2 separate regions of the Homo sapiens genome follow, and region 1 is linked to region 2. The links are contacts of gene promoters, found by promoter capture Hi-C in blood cells and fetal thymus (Javierre and others, 2016). All regions are on one chromosome and are shown on one strand. The core of a region is centred on a gene start or on the middle of the fragment in contact, and the rest is flanking DNA. Distances in the headings are between cores, read along the strand shown. Region 1 has its middle 32 kb from the start of TMEM168. Region 2 holds the start of SAMTOR (S-adenosylmethionine sensor upstream of mTORC1).

The links. The method cuts DNA at HindIII sites, captures the fragments that hold promoters and counts their contacts. A CHiCAGO score of 5 or more calls a contact.
Region 1: a contact is called between a fragment that was not itself captured here and the fragment with the promoter of SAMTOR in region 2, in 1 of 17 cell types (total CD8 T cells). The highest score is 5.2, in total CD8 T cells.

What each region holds. Positions count from the first base shown.
Region 1 is chr7:112,756,944-112,760,424 of GRCh38, forward strand. No RefSeq gene overlaps it. Among named protein-coding and RNA genes, the nearest start is that of TMEM168, 32 kb to the right of the region's middle. The HindIII fragment of the contact is 6,868 bases long and covers 1-3,481 here.
Region 2 is chr7:112,937,684-112,941,346 of GRCh38, forward strand. SAMTOR (S-adenosylmethionine sensor upstream of mTORC1) reads right to left here and starts at 2,192. Exons shown (of 5, transcript NM_152556.3): 1 at 1,908-2,192. The coding sequence starts at 2,067. RefSeq lists a silencer at 2,021-2,120 and enhancers at 2,150-2,666, 2,321-2,660. The HindIII fragment of the contact is 2,363 bases long and covers 944-3,306 here.

The DNA.
Region 1 (3,481 bases), core at 936-3,435, 180 kb before region 2:
AAAATGCTGTCTCTGTATTTAGTAATCTTCTCTATATTTTAGTGCAGTTATGCATTTCTTATAGGACCCAAATATTTCTGATTAATCTTACATTCTCTATTTCTGTTGGTAGAAGAATCTTTTTCCCATTATATTTCAAACAGTTATTGCTGGTGAAAAGGATGTTTAAGCAGAGTGAGAGACTCTCAGCAAAAAAAGGTAACTGAAAGAGTGGTAAGTCAGACAAAGAAGAAAAATGCCAAAGAAGAGGGTCAAGAACAACTCATATGACTCCGAAATCCCTTACCCACATTGGAGTTATAAAAAGTTCAGGAGCTGGAGACAAAAGGCAGGTTCATAAAGAGGATTCCTTGGAGAGAGTTGTTATAATGCTGTGAGTACCCCCACTGGGAGGGGGTAATGGGGTGACTACCCCTCCCCTCAAATCCTAGTGGAAAGGGATTTAATTGGGCCCTCAGAGATTGGTACATGGCCCTGCAGTTGGCAGGCCCAGTGCACTGGTGTTGATTCTTGTCTGTGAAACCAGAAGGACCACAGCATTGGCCAGGCGCTGAGAAATGAGTTCAAGAGGCAGCTGTGGATCTGCATGGGTGCCCAGACTTGCAAGGGCAAAGGTTGTGAGAGGGTTTCCCACAGACCACAGAAGGCCATGAATAGAGTGCCAGTATATGGCCATGGGAGGTCCTGCCCATGAGGGCCACCTGGAACAGCAAACCGACCTCAGTACAGAGAAGCTAGGGTATCAAATGAATTCCTAAAAGCCATGGAAAGAGTAAGGTAAAGAAGCAACTGCATACAGGTGGGAGATCCCCAGTATCAGCAGTATTAGTGCAGGATGCCACTGTAAACATCAGAAGATGCAGTCTGCCGGAGCCAGGTTACCATGGCCCTAGTGAAGTTCAAACTCTTCTGCCTTCCTTATGCCTCTTTCCTCCCCTCCACCTCTCTTCCATCCCTTGAGGGGTCAAAGACTGCAAGCTGAAGAAGAAAGAGAAGAAACGAAGCAGCTATCCCTATTTCCTTCCCCAGCTAGAGGAGTTAAGAGTAGTTGTAATTTTGACGAGGTTGGAATCTTTGCCCTTTACATGGAAATGGTCATTCTCATTACTACAGTGAGACTGTATCTTCAAAACATAACCTGGAAAAAAAAAAAAAAAAAGAAAGTTTGAATTTTCAGTCAACCTGCCAGAACAACCATACCTACCAAATTTAAAGGAACAGTGGGAAATACAGTTGCTTTATAACTACACTTTGTAAGTCCTGATTATTCATCAGACCAGTTGCACTACTCTACTTCAGGAAACAAAAAAAGTGCACAGCTTTTCTCCCTTGCTCTTGTGACTTCTCTGTACCCTTTGCCATCTCGAAATCCCCATTGCTTTCATCTGGTTTTTGTCCCGTCGTCCCAAGGCTGAATTATTTCATTCTACCTAACTCCTGAGTGATATTCAATTTAACAGCTTGCTTGGTTTTCATTTCTCTCTCTCTCCAAGGGGCTGTCTTGGCTCTTTGCTCCTTTGGGTTCCACACACCTGACCAGCTAAGCTCCTGGGACACCATATCCCAATGTCAGACCCCTCTCACTGTCCAGGAGTAAGGGAAGGGAGTAATTACCTAACCCTAACAAGAGGATTGTTCTTCCAAACAACAAAGCCAGGTTAACAACATTCAATTGTAAATGATACATTGGAATTGTGCCTTTTCTACCACACTGGATTAAATAAACTTGTCAAAAAAAAAAAAAAAAAAAGGTTAGGTTATTACTCTTTTTTTTTTTTTTTTGGACTGTGACAGTAGTTTAGTTCCTTGGAGTTTTTAGCTTTTCTCCAATTCTGACACTATGACCAAATCAGACATCTTGATGTATTTCAGGGTTTTACTGCTGAGCGTTACCCTCTATTTGTGATCAATAGGTCAGCCAAGACCCTCACTCCACATCCCATCCTTGGCTGCACCTACAGCTTTAGTAGTCACTTCTAAACCTAAGTATGGACCCTTGAGTGCAGCAGACTGCCAGAATGTCATCCTTTGACTGAAAAGTGACTTCCAAGGTAGCTGTTTCAGCCCATATCTTTCAGAGCTGAGATCTGAGCTCTGGTCTGGTGTAAACAAAACATTTTACTCTTCTGAAGCTACTGAGCCTGCCTCTCCAAATGTAACAGGAAGCCTGGTACCCTGCAAAGCATTCTCTTTCAGAAATTCTAGATATCTTAGGCATCAAATTCAAGGGGGCAACAGAACACAAAGCATTTCCAGTCTGAAGTCTGGCAGAAGATGCAAACAGGTGTCTCAAAAAAACCCAAAGATTTCCTGAGCATCTAGGGCTGAGTTTTGGGTCTGGTGGCTCTGCTGGGAAAGAGCTGGCTGATGACCCCATGAAGGGGATGGTAGGAGTAGGTCATGGTTCCCCTCACTGTGGAGTTTAGGTCATTTCTCTGGACTTTGTGTGGAATAACCAAGGCCTGAGGATGGAGTTCTTCAAAGGTTCAGGGGGTGGGAGTGGTGCCCCTTGACTGTGAAACTGTGTCATTCGTAATGAAGCAGAACTATCTATTCTACCAGTTACTGGATAACACGGAATGAGAAGAGTCCTGCATATTAACTAGCATAGCTCCAGAATCCCTACTCTTTCTGAATTGATAAGCCTCACTTTGAGGACAGAAGGCCATGTGGGGACCGCTCTTACTGTTTCACAGATGTTGGCCATGCAGCTCTGCTTACAGCTCTGCTGAAACAGCACTACCTGCAATGGGCCAAAAAAAGAAAAATCACAAAACAAAATGGTGCATGGTTTGCAAGGGGGCTGCTTACTTCACCCCTGGACTTCATAGCTCCGATCCTATTTTGCAGCACTGCCTGGGTAATAAGCGTTTTCCTATGATGTTTTGGCAAAACTAGAGTGGCAAGCAAGTTCCTGCCTTTGGATTAAAGAGATACTTAGTGATGCCACATAGTTATGTAGCCCAAGCCTTGCACTCTAGACCTACCTCCCCACCAGCTGTAAGGCTCTCCCCTCTACCTGCCATGATCCTCCCATCTCCAACATGTTGTGGTAGGGATCAATAACATAAAAAGTCAGTTAAGCTGTTATATTCATTAGTCACTGTCCATGATTCTCTACTCTCGAGTATCTCTCCTGAATGCAAACCTGTGATTCATAAATAACATGGGAAAACATTTTTCATGCCAGATTTATGCCACCAGCACGATCTATTCTCCCTGCTGAGCCTTGCTTCACTTGTGACTAACATGTTTTGAGACCAGCATGTATTTTGAACCCACGTAGAACTGGTTTTAAAAAAACACATAACATTTTCAGAGATTTACAAACAGTTCTAAATGACAGGAAGGTGATTGAGATGAGGAACAGCTAGAGATTTTGGAAACAGGCTAATCACAAGGCAATGAAATCAGTATACAGAAGTACTTACCACAGTGTTAGAACCTAGCGAACAATAAGTAATAGCCATTGTCATTTTTA
Region 2 (3,663 bases), core at 942-3,441:
ACCGGTGAAATTCAGGGTATTAAAGCGCCTAAAGAATAGTCTCATTCAAATGTTTAAACTGCCAGGACTTTAACTCCCCAGAAGCATACTAGATCATTCACTTATGAACTCCATGTATCTATTCTAGATCTGGTAACTTCCGATTCTCATAAACAAGAGTTCCTGTGGTTAATACTCAGGCTTAAAACATGGTTAAACATGTGGGAACTAAGCACATATAAACAGCACTTGAAGAGATGCCACATTAGTGTGTTAATTTGAGTGGAACCTATTCATTTATGAATAAATGAATAATGAAATTATTAAAAGGTAAAAATAGAAATGGAATTCTATGCTAGTCATTTTTCTCTTTAGAAAGATGCACTTAAATTTGTACAAAATAGCAGGATAAATTGCAGGAAAATGTGTCCATTTATTTCCTAATCTCTCCAAATAACATAAAATCTACAGTGAATTCCATTATGTAAGAGCATTCTTTGAATATCAAGAATGATGCAGTTGTTGCTATGGTAACTACTCATTTTATTGACTAAATTGTGGGTTTGGGTAGCATTCTTTCAAAAAACATATTTTACCATCCTAAGTAGGTCTGATAAGACTCTTTCTATTGCTATCTGTTAAACAATAACTACAAGCCCCATTTGGGGATGATTAAACAGCCTCTATTAAAAGCTAAGCTTGATTTGCTAAGGAAAGAAACCTTTAAAGTTTGAAAAATGAAACATATCAACTACATTCAAAAGAACAAAGGATACTTAGTTTTAACTTTCTAGAGTAGTTGAAACGTGTGTATAAATCAACAGTAACATGATCTTACCTGTCTGTATTCCTTCACTGCCATAATTTTCCTTCTAATCCTAAATTATTAACTAAGTATAGGACTAACACCAGAAGGCTGCTGACTTTTCAGTTTGCAATTAAGCTAAAATGAGAACCAGTGGAAAGCTTTCCTCATTTCGATACTCAGGAGAAGTCTCTCTCCCAAGCCTATGAAAACAGAATTTTCACTGTCAAAATCTTATAAAACAGCTGTGTACAAAAGCCTATATTTAAAGATATCAAGGATAACTGTAGACTCCAACTATAAACACTCTTCAGGCACAGGCAAAAGCCACTAAGGCTTCTTCCCCTATGAGCTTCCACAGAGGGGGTTCTCACCGGAACCCCATCCATGGAAGCCGAGGGTGGGCTTTATCGGCAGGTGTCTTTAGGAGGCTTCCAATACAAACGGTATTTTCAGAACCTGCCCAGATCTCTTCCTCATCGCCTAAATAAACAGTTAAGACCAAGTATTTAAGAAATGGGAGTGGGGGCCACGAGTGTAGCCCGCCCCCTTTTAACAATGTGAAGTCCAGTCAGCTAAAAGGCCTGCTGGCTTCCCAGCCCTGGAAGCCAATGCGAGGAAGGCTCGGCATGGTTGTAGGAATGAAGTACTAGGAAGGGGGTCTGATAAGGAAGCAAATGGTACAGCCGGTAGGTCAAGCGTAAAGGAGGGACAACTCAGGTTTCTTTTCGTCTTTTACAAATGGATTTTACCTGTCTTGTTTTACCTCGGCGTCTCTTGCAAAAAGCGACCCCCACCTCCTCTGTGAGCGTGTATGTGTTTGTGTGTGCCGAGACAACAACCTCAGCACCCCGGCTGGGGACAGGGGCTTGGAGGGGGTGGGGACTCAATTCCTTTACAGGCCTAGAACTCTCCCGAAGGGCCCTCAAAGAAAAGGGGGCGGGGAGGAGCGCGTCTGATGCCGACTAGGGGGCTCAGACCAGGCCCGGGAGAGCAGCAGCGGCTGGGGGGACGTGCAGATCCTTTACATTTTAATGGTGGCCTCTTTGGAGGAGGGAAGAGGTGACAAGCGGTTGGGGGTGATGAGGCCTCCCCTTCCTCCCTCACTCAGCGCGCTGTTTACCTTCTCGGTACTTCTTGCGGAGCCGCCGGTGGACGCTCTTCACCACACCGGAGAGCTTCTCCTGCTCCAGTTTCCGCTCCTGCTCCCGGGGCGGCGGAGTGTTCGGGGACCCGGCCCTCTGCGCACGAGCAGTATTTCGGCCGCCGGCCCCTGGCTCCATATCGCAGCCGCCGCCGCCGCCGCCGCCCCTCAGGCCCCCGCAGACGCTCCCCAGATGGAGGAGGTGGGGTAGGAGGAGGGAGCTGCGGAGGCAGCAGCCAGAGGAGGCAGAGGAACCGGAGCGACAGCCTTGGAGGTGGACCCTCACCCAAAAGTGCAAACTGATTGGTGGATTTTGAGGGCTGGGCGGAAACGGAAAAGGCTAAGGGCCAATGGGCAGAAAGCGCCGGCGGCGAACCCGGTTGTTTGGGAAGGCGAGCAGCTGGAGGAGGCGGAGCTTGCGGGGATAGGGAGGCTGAGGCAGTGGGAGCTCCAGGCCTGGGTGCTCATCTCTTCCCCACCCTCCCCGGATTCTGTGCGCAGGCGCTGTGGCTCGGCCTCGGGAGACGAGCTGTGAGCAACGCGCTTGCGCGTCTCAGTTTGCTTAGTTTGGGCTTTTTTACAGCTCGGCTTTCTGATGTCTTCCATCATTTTCATCCCCTACACTTTATAATCTGTTGCGATGCGGCCAGGGTGCTCTGCTTGAACCTCCGCTGCACCTTGTCACATGTAGGTTCCCTTTAGTTACTTGCGCTTTGAGATGACGTTACACTTCAGGGACCTCAAGCACACAAGCATTCTAAGGCTCAAGGAGAGGTCTGGCTACCAAATGCTAATTTAATTCTCAGGTCGACAATGGTTTATGCCTGCAGTACTACTGCTGGGCAAAGGACATAGAAAATGCGAAAAGGAGAGGGCCAAGAAAAGCAACAGGAGATGCAGGAGGACAATAAGGAACGATGGAAAACTCACAGCAGATGCCCTCAAGAACTTTTGTAGTGACCACGGTGTTAATAAGCAGCCTTCCCTGATCTTATTCGCATCAGCACTCTGAGCTTTTATGGTCAGCTCAGGTGACCTCCTGTCCTTTAATTTGGAGAGTTAGTCTATGCGGAGTGTATCTAAGTGGGTTTGGTAACCTGTTCACCCTCCTCCACTTCTTTTCCATCTCTTGGGGAACGCGATTGTTGACTTCTGTCCCAGAAAGGTGGAACACTGCTCTCTGGAGAGAGGTAGACTGCATTGGCTCCTGAAGTGGTACTGAGGCTGCTGGAGTGTCAGAGATTGAATAGACTGAGAGCCCCTAATGAGTTGTGTTGGATTGTGTACCACTTCCCCATTGCAGGTGTTGGTTACGTGACAGTCTATGGAAATGATTGCAATGGTAACATTTTGATAATGATTTTCTAACTACGAATAAAGCTTGCATTATGTAACTGTTTTATATGCTACCTTCTTTATATTGAATACGCTGAAGAGCAAAGAATTATACACACTGTCTAGGACACAGGAGAAGCGGGAGGTGAAGGGAGATTGATGGAATTTAAAGGCGGAAGATGTGTCCCTACAGCACAGTGAAGAGACAGATCAAACACAAAGACAAGGACATATAAACTTCAAAAGAACTCCTTATAATTATGAAGAGAAGTTAAGCGGAAGTGCCTAATAAATTGAAAATATGGTGGTCTTATTTGGGGGAATTTCATTTGGGAAGAAAGGGGAGCTTGAATTACATGTCTCTTTTGGCTCTTTCCATATTTTAATACATATGGAAGGC